Regions from separate parts of the Homo sapiens genome. Here region 2 is linked to region 1. The links are contacts of gene promoters, found by promoter capture Hi-C in human tissues and cell types (Jung and others, 2019). All regions are on one chromosome and are shown on one strand. Each heading gives the region's core, a stretch centred on a gene start or on the middle of the fragment in contact. The rest is flanking DNA. Distances are from core to core; before and after follow the strand shown.

Region 1 (6,098 bases), core at 943-3,442:
TAAAGGTGGGATTCATTTACTTTTACTGCTTGAATAGTTCCAAATCAAGTGACACATTATTTTGGAGTAGGGTGGGCTTGGGAGGCAGTGAGGAGGAAAGGGGAATCGAGAGAGCAAATGCAGCGAGGCTGGAATGCAAGTGCCCTGGGCAAGGGACAGCGAGAGGGCCCCACTGTATTTCTTAACCACCCTCCTTCCTCAACTGTGCCCTCCAGTCCCGCCACACAGGCACGCGGTTGGTGCTGCACCAAGATTCAGGGCGTCGGCTGGCGATGTCAGAATGTCCATTCTGCTGGCTGGTGCGGTGTTTTGATTTCCATGGTGGGGCCTGCTGGCATGGCCCTGGCTTCGGGGCTGGGATGGTGCTGTCCCGACTTTGTCCAGATCAGAATGCGGTGCCTATGCCCAGATCTCAGGGGTCTGCTCCCCCTATCCCCCCTCCTCTCTCGACCCTGCCCCTTAGTGGGACCGGTGCAAAGGGGTTGGGAAGGGATCTGGTATCTTCGTCATTGTCGGTACTGCTTCTCCGGGGGTCTACTGGCCCCTCACTGACCTTGCCAAGTGCTCCTCTGGCGAGGGAACACAGGGGACCCCACATTCCTGCGCGGCACTGGCTCCCGTGCTGGCCGAGATGCACAGGAGCACCTGATGATACGGCCGCCCAGGGCTGGGAGCTGGGGCCTCAGTTGGGGGCTCGCTGCCTGCGCTCCCCCAACACCTGCCGCCCGGTCCGCGACACCGTGTATGCCAGCTTCTGCAGGGAGTACCTGAACACCTGCGACGAGAAACCCAGGACCCACCCTTAGTGGAGAGCACCCACAGCATGTCTGTGGTGCTGCCGTGCCCACCCCCGCCCCACCCCCTGCCCCGCCCGCCCATCCAGCGTAGGCTGGAGAGGCGGGCGCGGGCGCAGCTTGTCCACGAGTCAGGGCAGCTGGAGCTTTTCCAACTGTGCTGAGAGCTGCATGGCGGCAAGCTGATTGGACCCACAACTTAGGTATACCTCACTTCTCGCAATGGGCTGTGTCCCTGGAGGATTTCGAAAAGCGAATCCTACCCAGTAAATGCAGCATTCCAGGAACACCTTGAAGGAAATATGCGATTCCTTTGGCAAAGGATTCCTTTAGCAGGGAATTCTTCCTGCAAAGGGAGCTTTTAGGGTAAATGATTTTATGGGCAAAGCGCTTTCTTCTGATTTATCTCTTTTTACACCAAGCGCTTTTGCCTCTTTTTTATTTTTTTTATTATTATTTTTTTTTTTGTAAAGCAATTGTCCTTTTTTGGAAGTGCTTTTTTTCCCCTTCTATTTTTCTCTCGAGGGGCTTTTTCCTCTAATTTTTTTCTTTAAAGCGTTTTTGCCCGATCCATTTTTTTCCGTTAGCTCCCTTGTCTAATTTTTTTCTGCAGTGCGTTTTTAATCTAATGCATTTTTTTCTGCCAAGTGCTTTTCTCCGATTTATTTTTCCTGCAATGCGCGTTTTTCTGTTTTCCTGTGAACTACTTTTTCTCTAATTCGTTGTAGGGTTTTTTTTTTTTGCGAAGTAATTTTTATTTTTTCTGAGAAGTGCCTTTTTCTAACTTATTTTTTGTTCCACCCCCGCAAGCGCTATATGTTTTTTTAAATAAAATTTCTCCGCAATGCGCAATTTTTTAAGGTGGAAAATTTTCACTCTGCGAGCTGTAAAGTCTTTCAACACAGTAGTGCCCCGCCTCCCTCCTGGGGTCGAGTCCGGGTGTAGCGGGTTTTTCTTACCGCGTAGGTCGCTAAATGCCTGGGTGATCGTCCGCAGCGGTCGCCCGCCGCGCCCCGAGTCTTTGTTCCCTGGCAGGCGCGGGCGCACTAGGGAGGGTCAGCGCGAGGAGGACGGCGCAGGGAATGGGCAGGGGGCGCGCGGTGCCGGCAGCGGCACTTGGGCAGGCAAGGATCGCGGCAATCGGAATAGGACGGGTCCGGGAAGCGGCAATCGCGACGCAGTCTTGCGGGTTCTAGGGGCGCGAGTTGGGAACCCTCTCCCACCCGAAACCCCGTCAGACTTACCTGCAGCAGCACGCGGAAGATGTACCAGCCGATGATGAGCAGTTCAGCCGAGGCCGCCGCCACTGCCGCCATGGTTCCAAGAATGGTAGGTGGGTGGTCGAGAAAGAGGGTTTGCCGAGATCCGCTGGTCTCGGAGTCCGCTGTTGGGCGCACTGCCGCAGCCGCGGTGGCCGCGCCTTAAGTACCCGCCCGCCACCTAAGTGCGCATGCGCGCCTTGGGGGGTGTTTATGAGGAGGGGTGGCTGGGGGCGCTCCTCATTCGCCAGGAGAGGAAAAAAATAATCCATCTGCTCTTTCCATACCGACCCCCGCCTCCTGAGTTCCATCTTAGCCCCCTTCCAGAAGATTCCGCCGTGCTTGCTTTTGGATTTTGCTTTAAAATGGAGGGGTACCACGACTCTGGGTAGAGTACAGGGCGAGAATGGGGGTGCAGGTCTCTTAGTGTGGCGCCCTTCTCCCCAGTCCCTGGCCTGCAAATTTGAGCTCAGTCTCCGGTGCCACTCCAAAGCCTACCTTGGGGATGGATGGAAAACCGAAATTAGGGAGGGGTCATCTGCCCCATAGAGCAAAAAACGTGGTGCCCCTTTCAGAAGCTTTGGCATAATAGGCCCGTGCTCGGCGCTCTTTTCCTGATACTGAATGAGTTTTAAGCCCAGGTCCTCTGCTTCATGAGGGTGCCTGAGCGCGTAACCCGTCTGATTCTTTACATCTCTCTTACGGTAGCGAGGAGATGAGAATCTGCGGTGGAGGTCGCTACTGTAGGGAGCTGAGCCAGAGCACTGCGCTTTGGGCGCAAAAGCAGTAGTCACCCGGTATCTGTAGGAGGGATACAGGAAGGATTGGCGCCCTTCGTATGCACGGAAGGAATGAGCTCTACGGAGAAGTGGTTGGAATATGCTTGGGGATAGTTTTCTGCTGGACAGGTCGTTTCGACCTCAGTCTTCCGCTCCCCTCCCCCAAGCCCTGGTAGGTCGGCCTTAGCCAGTGGGGTTCTTTGTACCCGTTGCGCTGTGCGGCTGGATCACCGAACGGGGTTACGCTACCGCTACCGGAGGGTTGTGGCTACCGCAGCCCCGTTTCCAAGTGAGGCGGGTCCCTTTTAGACCGCCAGTCTTGTGGGTCCCTCGCACAGCGCGGATTTTCGGGCGGGAAGACCGGAATGCGGTTTGTGAGTGTGGTCCCCGCGCACCGGTAGCCAGCCGAAAGCACCTCTTTCCAGCAAGCTGCCTGGCCCAGGGACCAACTGGCATTTGCCCCTATGTGGATAGAAAATTAATTTTCATTAAAAGCTCCCAGAGGTCAGGTTCTATACAGTGCCAGCAGCAGATGGAGGTGTAATGATCCAAACGAGTTCAGTTTGGACAAAGTAGCATAGTGACTTTTTTTCTACATTGACTTTCGGAGAAGTTGGCAGATTCTGGCAAAGTGACGCTGGGCTGTTTGAAAAAGGCAAGCTTAGCCTAGGCTGCCATCTTAAAATATTTCGAGGCTGTAGCTGCCTCAGGATCCTTTGCCTGTGGTCTGGTGGCCGGCAGTGCCCCGCTAACAGCTTTAACTCTGCACTTAGTGCCTGAGCACCTATGGCTGTGAGAGATGCTAGATACAGAACCCTGTCCTTACCACGTGGGGGCACAGCAGGGAGCCCTTGGTCGTCCTTTGGCAACCACTGGGCGGTATTGTGAGGTCTGGGCCCCTTGAGGACGGGCTGCAGCCCCAGGAGGCGATACATGATCTCTGCTGGGCAGGGCCCAGGCAAAGCCAGCCCACTGTGTGAAACCGTGCCAAAGAGCCCTCTCCCCGATCCCCCAGGAGAAGCCCCGGGGAGACATCCCAGGAAGCTTCCCGAATTAGTGACTTGGAGAGGAGTAGAACTTTCACGGGTGGGCAGGGAGGAAAGGGCATTTCACATTTGCTGTTGTTAACCATGATCCATTTTCCCAAATAAGTATACATTCTGTTCCTGTTTTTTTTTTTTTTTTCTTTTTTTTTTTTTTTTTTTGTCTGTCTGTCTGTTCTTTGTCTGTTTGTCTGTTGTGTTGACTTTTCTCTTCAGGATCCCTGCTGCCTTGGTGATCCCGGGCTGACAGCCAGAGAGCACAGCGGCTCAGCTCCTGGAGAGTGAGGGTTGAAGAAAGCGGAGGGCAGCCGCCTGCGCCCGCTGGCTCCCATTAGGTCGGTTCCTGCAGCGGTGCCCGGCAGCCTTGGTGAAGGCCCTGCCCGGCAGAGATCATGTATTGCCTCCAGTGGCTGCTGCCCGTCCTCCTCATCCCCAAGCCCCTCAACCCCGCCCTGTGGTTCAGCCACTCCATGTTCATGGGCTTCTACCTGCTCAGCTTCCTCCTGGAACGGAAGCCTTGCACAATTTGTGCCTTGGTTTTCCTGGCAGCCCTGTTCCTTATCTGCTATAGCTGCTGGGGAAACTGTTTCCTGTACCACTGCTCCGATTCCCCGCTTCCAGAATCGGCGCATGATCCCGGCGTTGTGGGCACCTAACGGCCTGCCCTGTTAGCTTTCCAAGGAAGCAGAAGACGGGAGGGGAGGCATTGACATAGGTCATAAAGCATTGGAGTTTCAAATCCCGCAGCCTCGCGGGTGTCACATTCCTGACGGCGCCTTTTTGGCCTGTGATGTTTTATCCTTACAATGTGAATAATGGCACTGACCGGTGCTTTTATTGTAAAGTCCTATAGTCGTGGGTGGTCTTGTGGTTGTGTGTGTTCTGTCCCCATCTAGGTCCTGGCTGGCCGCATGACCACCCCTCTCGCCTCATTACTGTGAGGAGTCTGGGTCCATCCTGGTCAGCTGCCCCAATGTGACCTGGGGCAGATAAAATGCCAGTCTCATTGTCACCTCTGTGACCCCTCCTTGTCAGGGTCTCCTTCCTTCCCAGAATGTTACTGACTCCTCAGTCCCTCTTCTGGTTTCCCTTTATTTCTCTTCTACCCTTTTCCTTTTTTGGGGAGTACCTGTCCAAGACAGGGCTCATTTTTGCACTTATCTCGAATTTGAAGAGATTGCTGACGCCCGAGAGCCTCGCTTTTTCATCCTTCTTTCCTTGTTCAGCAGGCTAGACAGAAACATGTCTTGACTGTTAGTTGTCCACAAATCTTCAGTATTTTCTCCACTTCATTTTTAAGAAAGGAAGCAACAGATAGATGTTGCTCTTTCACCTGGGTGTCTGGGCTCAAGCTTTCCCGCCCAGCCTCACTTCCTTTGCCCTTCCTCCTGCCTTTCTCAACTGTCCCAAGGAGGGGGCCTCATTGTGTCTCCCGTGCATGCTCTGCAGCATTGAAGTATGGTGTGTTCACGTAGTTCTAGCAGTCCCCAGCTGAGTGAGTGGGAGAGTACCTGTGTGTTTCGTAACGGCCTTGATCCCCTTGATAGATGTTTGGATATTTTTTGGTGTGCCCTGTGTGTGTGTGTGTACAAATACATGTGTATATTCCTTTTAAAGAAGCTTTATCGAACGTGGTCTGATTTTGAGGTTTAGCAATAGCTAGCTATATATGGTAGGTGCCGCTACAGTTTTTATTTAGCATGGGGATTGCAGAGTGACCAGCACACTGGACTCCGAGGTGGTTCAGACAAGACAGAGGGGAGCAGTGGCCATCATCCTCCCGCCAGGAGCTTCTTCGTTCCTGCGCATATAGACTGTACATTATGAAGAATACCCAGGAAGACTTTGTGACTGTCACTTGCTGCTTTTTCTGCGCTTCAGTAACAAGTGTTGGCAAACGAGACTTTCTCCTGGCCCCTGCCTGCTGGAGATCAGCATGCCTGTCCTTTCAGTCTGATCCATCCATCTCTCTCTTGCCTGAGGGGAAAGAGAGATGGGCCAGGCAGAGAACAGAACTGGAGGCAGTCCATCTAGGGAATGGGACTGTGAGGCCATACTTGTGAAACGTCTGGACTGCTATTCTAGAGCTTTTATTTGGTGTGTTCGTTGCACAGCTGTTTGAAATGTTTAATAAAGCTTTATAAACTTTACTTTGTGGTTTTATGTGGCTGCAGTCCATTTGGGTCGTGGTGTTGGATTTCGGAGTTGGTGGGGGGCAGGGGG
Region 2 (6,511 bases), core at 1,610-4,109, 520 kb before region 1:
TCACTAGCCACCTCACACTCGGCCTGGCCAAAACAAAACTCGTGATTTCCTCCACCAAATCTTTTCCCCAATCTTCACTTCAGTAAAGGGCACCATCAGTCATTCCTTACATCAAAAACCTAGAAATCGTCTTTGATTTCTCTTTTCACTTACTACCAGCTCCCACTCAACGCCTATAAATCCTATCAGTTTTACACTGGAGAGGTGGGGATCCTCCCACGAAGGAAGCACTCAATAAATGGAAGCTATTAGTATCTTCCCATTGCTTCTGAGTCCTAGGCAATGTCACCTCTAGCCTGCATCACAGCAATATCCTCCAAACTCATGTCCCCGCCCCTCCCTTGGCCTTTACAATCCATCCCTCTACACTAAGCCATTTTTAAAGAGGGATGTTTTAAAAATGTATGTTGGAATATATTGGAATATATCATTCCCCTGGTTAAAACTCTTCAATGACATCCCATGAGAAAAAAATCCTAACTTCCAAGACTTACAGGGTGTATGTGACTGCTGCATGTCCACCTCTCGGACCTCATCTGGATATCACTTTTCCCTTTGTGCACTATATTCTAACCACACCAGCCTTCATTCTGTTTCTCTTAGAAGGCCAAGATGATCTCTGCCTTAAGTTTTTCTTAATAGCTGCTCCCGCTTCGCATGATTACCGCAAATGTCATTTCCTTAGAGGCCTTCCTGAACCACACTACCTGTGAGATCCTACTCTAGAACATCACTCCATTTTACTATGTCCATATTGTCCTGCTCTGAAAGTATCTTGCTCATTTAATTGTCTTTGCCTGCCTTGTTCACTGCTGCTCCCCCCGTGTCTGGATCCATACTTGGCACATAGAAGGCACTCCAATACATGTTGAATGAAAAATGACATGGACAGCTGTCTCCTCACTGGGAAGAAAACAAGGCACTTGTATGAAAAGCAAGTTTGCAGTCTGGTTAATTAAACTGCTATTCAAATCAAATCTATCCTATGAACTTGGCAGCTTTCTCTGACTTGAGAGTTTTTTTTACTGTTTGTTTGTTTTGGGTGTGGAGGTGTCTTTTATCATAAAAATATCCCTCATCAATTTAGTCAACAGTAATGGGTCAACTATCTTTGTTCATCAACTGACCACAGAAAAAGCACACAGAAAGTATATGTTAATTAGGCTACTCCTACTGTGGACGAGCTGCATCACGGTTGAAGCAGAACTGTTGGACTTTCTGTCCCAATAATGGGGTATAAGAAAGGAGATTGGAAACATGGGTATCCTGAATGTAATACCCAAGCAGAATCTTAAAAGAACCAGAATGCAAACAGAAAGGAATTCGGGCTATTTTATTGAGAAGGACCAGGTTTATCTTCCTCACACTGCCACTGAATCTGCCAAGACACCTAAAACCTGGCTAGTTTTTAAGGTGTTCCCAAGAAAAAAGGAATTTTTAACCCTGGTGTTGCCCACCCCCTTTTCCACCCCTTTCTATTTACTTTTTGGTTTCAGGACAGCTAAAGATTACAGATCGTTTGTCTGTTTGTAATTTAGAGACAGGGTCATGCTCTGTTGCTAAACCTGGAGTGCAGTGGTATGATTATAGCTCACTACAGCTTTGAACTCCTGGGCTCAAGCAATCCCCCTGCCTCAGCCTCCCAAGTAGCTAGGACTACAGGTGCACACCACCATGCCTGGCTAATTTTTAAAAAATTTTTTGTAGACACAGGGTCTCACTATGCTGCCCAGGCTGGAATTTTTTAATAACACTGTTATGTTTACTATCCCTACAAGAAATCATTCCAGCCAACTCCCTAGACCAAATCTCTTCCATAATGAGTTAACATTAATTAACTCATTTAACAAATATTTACTGAACGCCTACTGTGTCAGGGCAGACCATAATGTTGCCCAGCTCCTGGGACACCACTTACATGGAGGCTATATAAATGGTATTCCTTCAAGCTACATAACTCAGCAGCTCTGTGCCAGACACTTTACTAGGTGCCTGGAATATAGGAAAAAACAAATGATCCAATGAATGAGCAAATGTGGAACAGGCATTGTACTACATACTTTTAAACATATTGTCTGTCTTTACCCTCACAACTCTTATGAGGGGGAGTGGTATCCTCCCCCTTTAGCCAGTTAGGAAATTTGGGCTCAAAAAGTTAAGTAACACATCCAAGGTCACTCACATAGTGTCTGAGGCAGAGCTACCATCAATTTCTAAGCAACTGTGAACTAAATCTCATCAAAGCAAGAAAATCTGTCTATTTCAGATAGCTCCTCTAGTAGTCTGTTCTAAGCTTACTCTGTTATGAAGATTCAGTATTTTTTTCAAGTTAATAACACATTTTGCTACTTGCGCCCATGTTGATCAAAAGGTGAGCCAGTTATGTAACTTATCCACAAAAACCATCTTTTTCATCTCTAGAAAGCTAGGTGTCATTTCTTTCTCTTGGATTTCTAATTTTATTCCTTCAAACTTTTCAAATCCTGCAATGAAAGCAGGACTTCATTTCTCATTTAAGGCCTTTCACTATATTTTAGACCTAGTAACAATTTATGTTTAACCTACTAGTCTCCCATTCATGTTTCCCAATTCCTTTTGCAAATATCTGTTTATATATTTACTTATAAACATAATATTCTAATGAACGATAGTTTTTCTTTGCTTTTCCTGGGCACCTAATTTAAGCCCACAGAAAGCTTTTGTTTTTACATGAAGTAAAGTAATTTATAAAACTTTTAATCCAATGTATGCTTTCTATGGTATTAGTTGTATGAGTGCCACTCCTCTCTGCCACAAAACACAACAGCACCAGGCTTAATACAATATAGCCAGAGCAAACACCTACTTTCTACACTAATAATTACTATTATTGCAGTTACAGTAATGCCTACTATTTTTAGTAAACTAGACATCTAGAAATCCAGAAGGAAATAAAAAGGAAGGCATTTGGCAATTAATTTCTTGCTATTAAGTTATGTTACTAAAAGGTTCCCTTACTAGTTAGCTTTGTTTTTTGATCATAAGCTGATGAGACAACTCAACCAAACCAAGGAAAATACCATAACCAAGAAATAAATTCAAAAAATGAAAATGAATATATCTAGAAGAAAGATAATGCTAGGCTGAATCTCTCAAATGTATCAGAATGTTTACATGTCTCGATAGTTCTTGAGGGCTCAACAAAACATAAAACCACAATTCGGCCTCCACAACTCTCTGTAAAGTAGGAAGTTGTCAATTTACAAAGGCTATCACAGAAAAGGAAAGAACAAAAAGGTGGGAAAGGCAATGAATTTAAAAACAAATCCAAAAAACAGACAACATACCTGGCAACATGAGAAAAAGCATCCACAAGGACAGATTCAAATTCTCTAGTGAATTCAGGTCCTTTCCTTTTACTGTTTTGGATGACATCATTCGCTAAATACAGAAAAGTAAGCTTTCTATTTGATTTGGCTGAAAAAAAGAAAAGAAAAGAATTTAACTTACACCAAAGAAATTCTCAATTCACAATTCTTTTGCCCTGGGCTGCTCCTAAAAAAACATTAAGACAAGTATTATCTACCTGGGGGGTCAAGTAGATATGTTTAAAAAGACCACCTAAGGAATAGGTTTGGGAATACCATTTCGGAAAAAAAAAAAAGAAAAAGAAAAAGAATGGGCCATCTTCATTGCTGTGTTGTTTAAACCAGGGTAATTAATTGATAGTAAAAATTAAGATAATCCAAAGAGAATTCCTAAAGGATAAGCAGTCAGTGTTAATGTTGAAACTAGGGCTTTTATTTATTCTACTGCAAAAATGAGCAACTTCTAACTCACTTTTAATTATCAAATATTTCAGAATGAAAGACTGAGTTGGCCGGACGCAGTGGCTCATGCCTGTAATCTCAGCACTCTGGGAGGACGAGGTGGGTGGATCATTTGAGGTCAGGAGTTTGAGACCAGCCTGGCCAACATGGTGAAACCCTACCTCTACTAAAGATACAAAAATTAGCCGGGTGTGATGGTGGGCACCTGTAGTCCCAGCTACTCAGGAGGCTGAGGCAGGAGAATCGCTTGAACCCAGGAGGTGGAGGTTGCAGTGAGCCGAGATTGCACTACTGTACTCCAGCTTGGGCAATAGAGCAAGACTCTGTCTCAAAAAAAAAAAAAAAAGACTGAGTTAGGTTTCAATTTTAAAATGGTTTCGCCGAGCGTGGTGGCTCATGCCTGTCATCCCAGCACTTTTGGAGGCCGAGATGGACGGATCACCTGAGGTCGGGAGTTTGAGACCAGCCTGACCAACGTGGAGAAACCCCGTCTCTACTAAAAATACAAAATTTGCCTGGCGTGGTGGCACATGCCTGTAATCCCAGTTACTCAGGAGGCTGAGGTGGGAGAATCGCTTGAATCCGGGAGGTAGAGGTTGTGGTGAGCCTAGATCATGCTGTTGCACTCCAGCCTGGGCAACAAGAGCAAAACTCCGTCTCAAAAAAAAAAAAAAGGTTTCTTGTAATTTTGCTCCTAAACTGAGAATTTCTCTGATACTCCAATAACCATAATCAATAATATAGAAGAATCTCTAGGTGCACCAATAGATATTAGCTCAAATACAAGTATACATTAACACTACACTCTTATTGAAAATTTACACACGTGTGAAATCTAGATATGCAAAATTAGGGCTTTCACAAAAACCATAATTCTCTCTTATTTATATGAAATGTGGTTATTCCCTATTACTCTATATGGTATCATATATTAAACCATAAAAACCTCGTGCAATATGTCTGAGTTACAGTTGCTTTGGGGAACATTACTGAATTCCCTGGCTTCTATGCACATAATTTCTCAACTATAAAGTTACATCCCTACAATTTTTGGTTCCAATTTTCTTTTAAAAGAAATAAATAAGAACATAATTAGATGTTTCAAAACACAAAGTTTTCTCCAATGCTAAAGTACCTGAAAAACACAAGCTCTTTATCAACCTTAACACACCTGAGTAACTCTATTTCTCTCTGAAACCAGTTGTTTCTTTTGAAATGTACAAAGCATTGATATGTCTGACATAGCAGGCATAAGATCTGACATTTTAAAATGTAGCTACAGGAGGCTGGGCACAGTGGCTCACGCCTGTAATCCCAGCACTCCGGGAGGCCAAGGCAGGTGGATCACCTGAGGTCACGAGATCAAGGCCATCCTGGCTAACATGGTGAAACCTTGTCTCTACTAAAAATACAAAAAATTAGCCAGGCGTGGTGGCGGGCGCCTGTAGTCCCAGCTACTCAGGAGGCTGAGGCAGGACAATGGGGTGAGCCCAGGAGGCGGAGCTTGCAGTGAGCCGAGATCACACCACTGCACTCCAGTCTGGGTGACAGAGCAAGACTCTGTCTCAAAAAAAAAAAAAAAAAAAAAAAACAAAACAAAAAAAATCAGCCGGGCGTGGTGCCAGGCGCCTGTAAACCCAGCTACTTGGGAGGCTGAGGCAGGCGAATCACTTGAACCTGGGAGGCGGAGGTTGCAGTGAGCCGAGATCGCGCCAACTGCACTCCCACCTGGGTGACAGAGTAAGAGACTCCGTCTCAAAAAAAAAAAAAAAAATGTAGCTACAGGAGAGTAACCCAAGTTAAAAACATGATTTTAATAGCACATTACAGTTTAAACTGATGAAACTGATGTCTTAAATGCTCATAAAATTAAATATGGATACCCTGAATTGTCTTAACCTTCTGGTAATAACCTAGTTTAGATGGCCAACTGATAAGAATACTAGGAACCTGGAGCTTTCTTCAACTTTCTAATTATTATTCAAAAGCAGAACAAAAGTGTCAGTAGTTACAATATCTACTGTTGCTACAAAGGTATGATTATGGCAAAACGTGCTTTTTTGTTAAAGCAAACCTTGCTCTGCAAAGTTGATGTAAGTGAAACTACTACACCTATAATCCCATGCAAGTTAGCAGATTCGAAAGCAAAACAGAACTTCAACAAAGCAAATTTCATTAAGTGAAGCTTTAAAATTCCATACACTTTATGTTGAAAAAAAAAAAACCTAGAATCCATATTGTAAAATGTCAGTGTGGACATTCAAGACCTGATATATACTTCTCAGTAGACAAACAAGGTATCTAAGGGGCTTGAGACCCAAGGTTTTCACTGTTTACAATGCCAATTAATTTTCATCACCCCAGAACTTAACAATGGGGATTTATTTAGGATAAACTGTATCCCTCCATATTCAACATCCTCAACAGTCAACATAAGCACCATGTGTGTCAAGGTGATATGACAAAACCCTAGAGCTCTTGAGCACACACAGTCACAATACACACAACATGCACACCCCTCCATCCCAATCCTGGGGGACAACTCACTTGTTCAGATGTCCTTCCTATACGACAGAAATAGGTCCTTTCACTCACTACCCATGTCCATTCCAAACTGGTCAAACTAGTTGTTGAGTAAAATTTAAACAACTGGTTAATCAAAACTTTTCACTTGTTTGGCTGGTTTTGACATCTACAGAAAG

The links. The method cuts DNA at HindIII sites, captures the fragments that hold promoters and counts their contacts. A contact is called where the count stands out against the background at its distance.
Region 2: a contact is called between a fragment that was not itself captured here and the fragment with the promoter of NNAT in region 1, in 2 of the 25 tissues and cell types used here (bladder and dorsolateral prefrontal cortex).

The regions. Positions count from the first base shown.
Region 1 is chr20:37,517,344-37,523,441 of GRCh38, reverse strand. It overlaps NNAT (neuronatin), which reads right to left and starts at 2,192. Exons shown (of 3, transcript NM_005386.4): 1 at 2,039-2,192; 2 at 1,004-1,084; 3 at 1-775. The coding sequence starts at 2,110. The coding sequence ends at 683. BLCAP (BLCAP apoptosis inducing factor) reads left to right here. Exons shown (of 2, transcript NM_006698.4): 2 at 4,092-6,025. The coding sequence starts at 4,268. The coding sequence ends at 4,531. RefSeq lists enhancers at 3,120-3,983, 3,984-4,847. The HindIII fragment of the contact is 18,819 bases long and covers 1-3,062 here.
Region 2 is chr20:38,037,380-38,043,890 of GRCh38, reverse strand. RPRD1B (regulation of nuclear pre-mRNA domain containing 1B) reads right to left here. Exons shown (of 7, transcript NM_021215.4): 2 at 3,327-3,456. It overlaps LOC124904898 (a long non-coding RNA gene), which reads right to left. Exons shown (of 2, transcript XR_007067579.1): 2 at 5,784-6,432. Among named protein-coding and RNA genes, the nearest start is that of RPRD1B, 6.9 kb to the right of the region's middle. The HindIII fragment of the contact is 3,717 bases long and covers 1,001-4,717 here.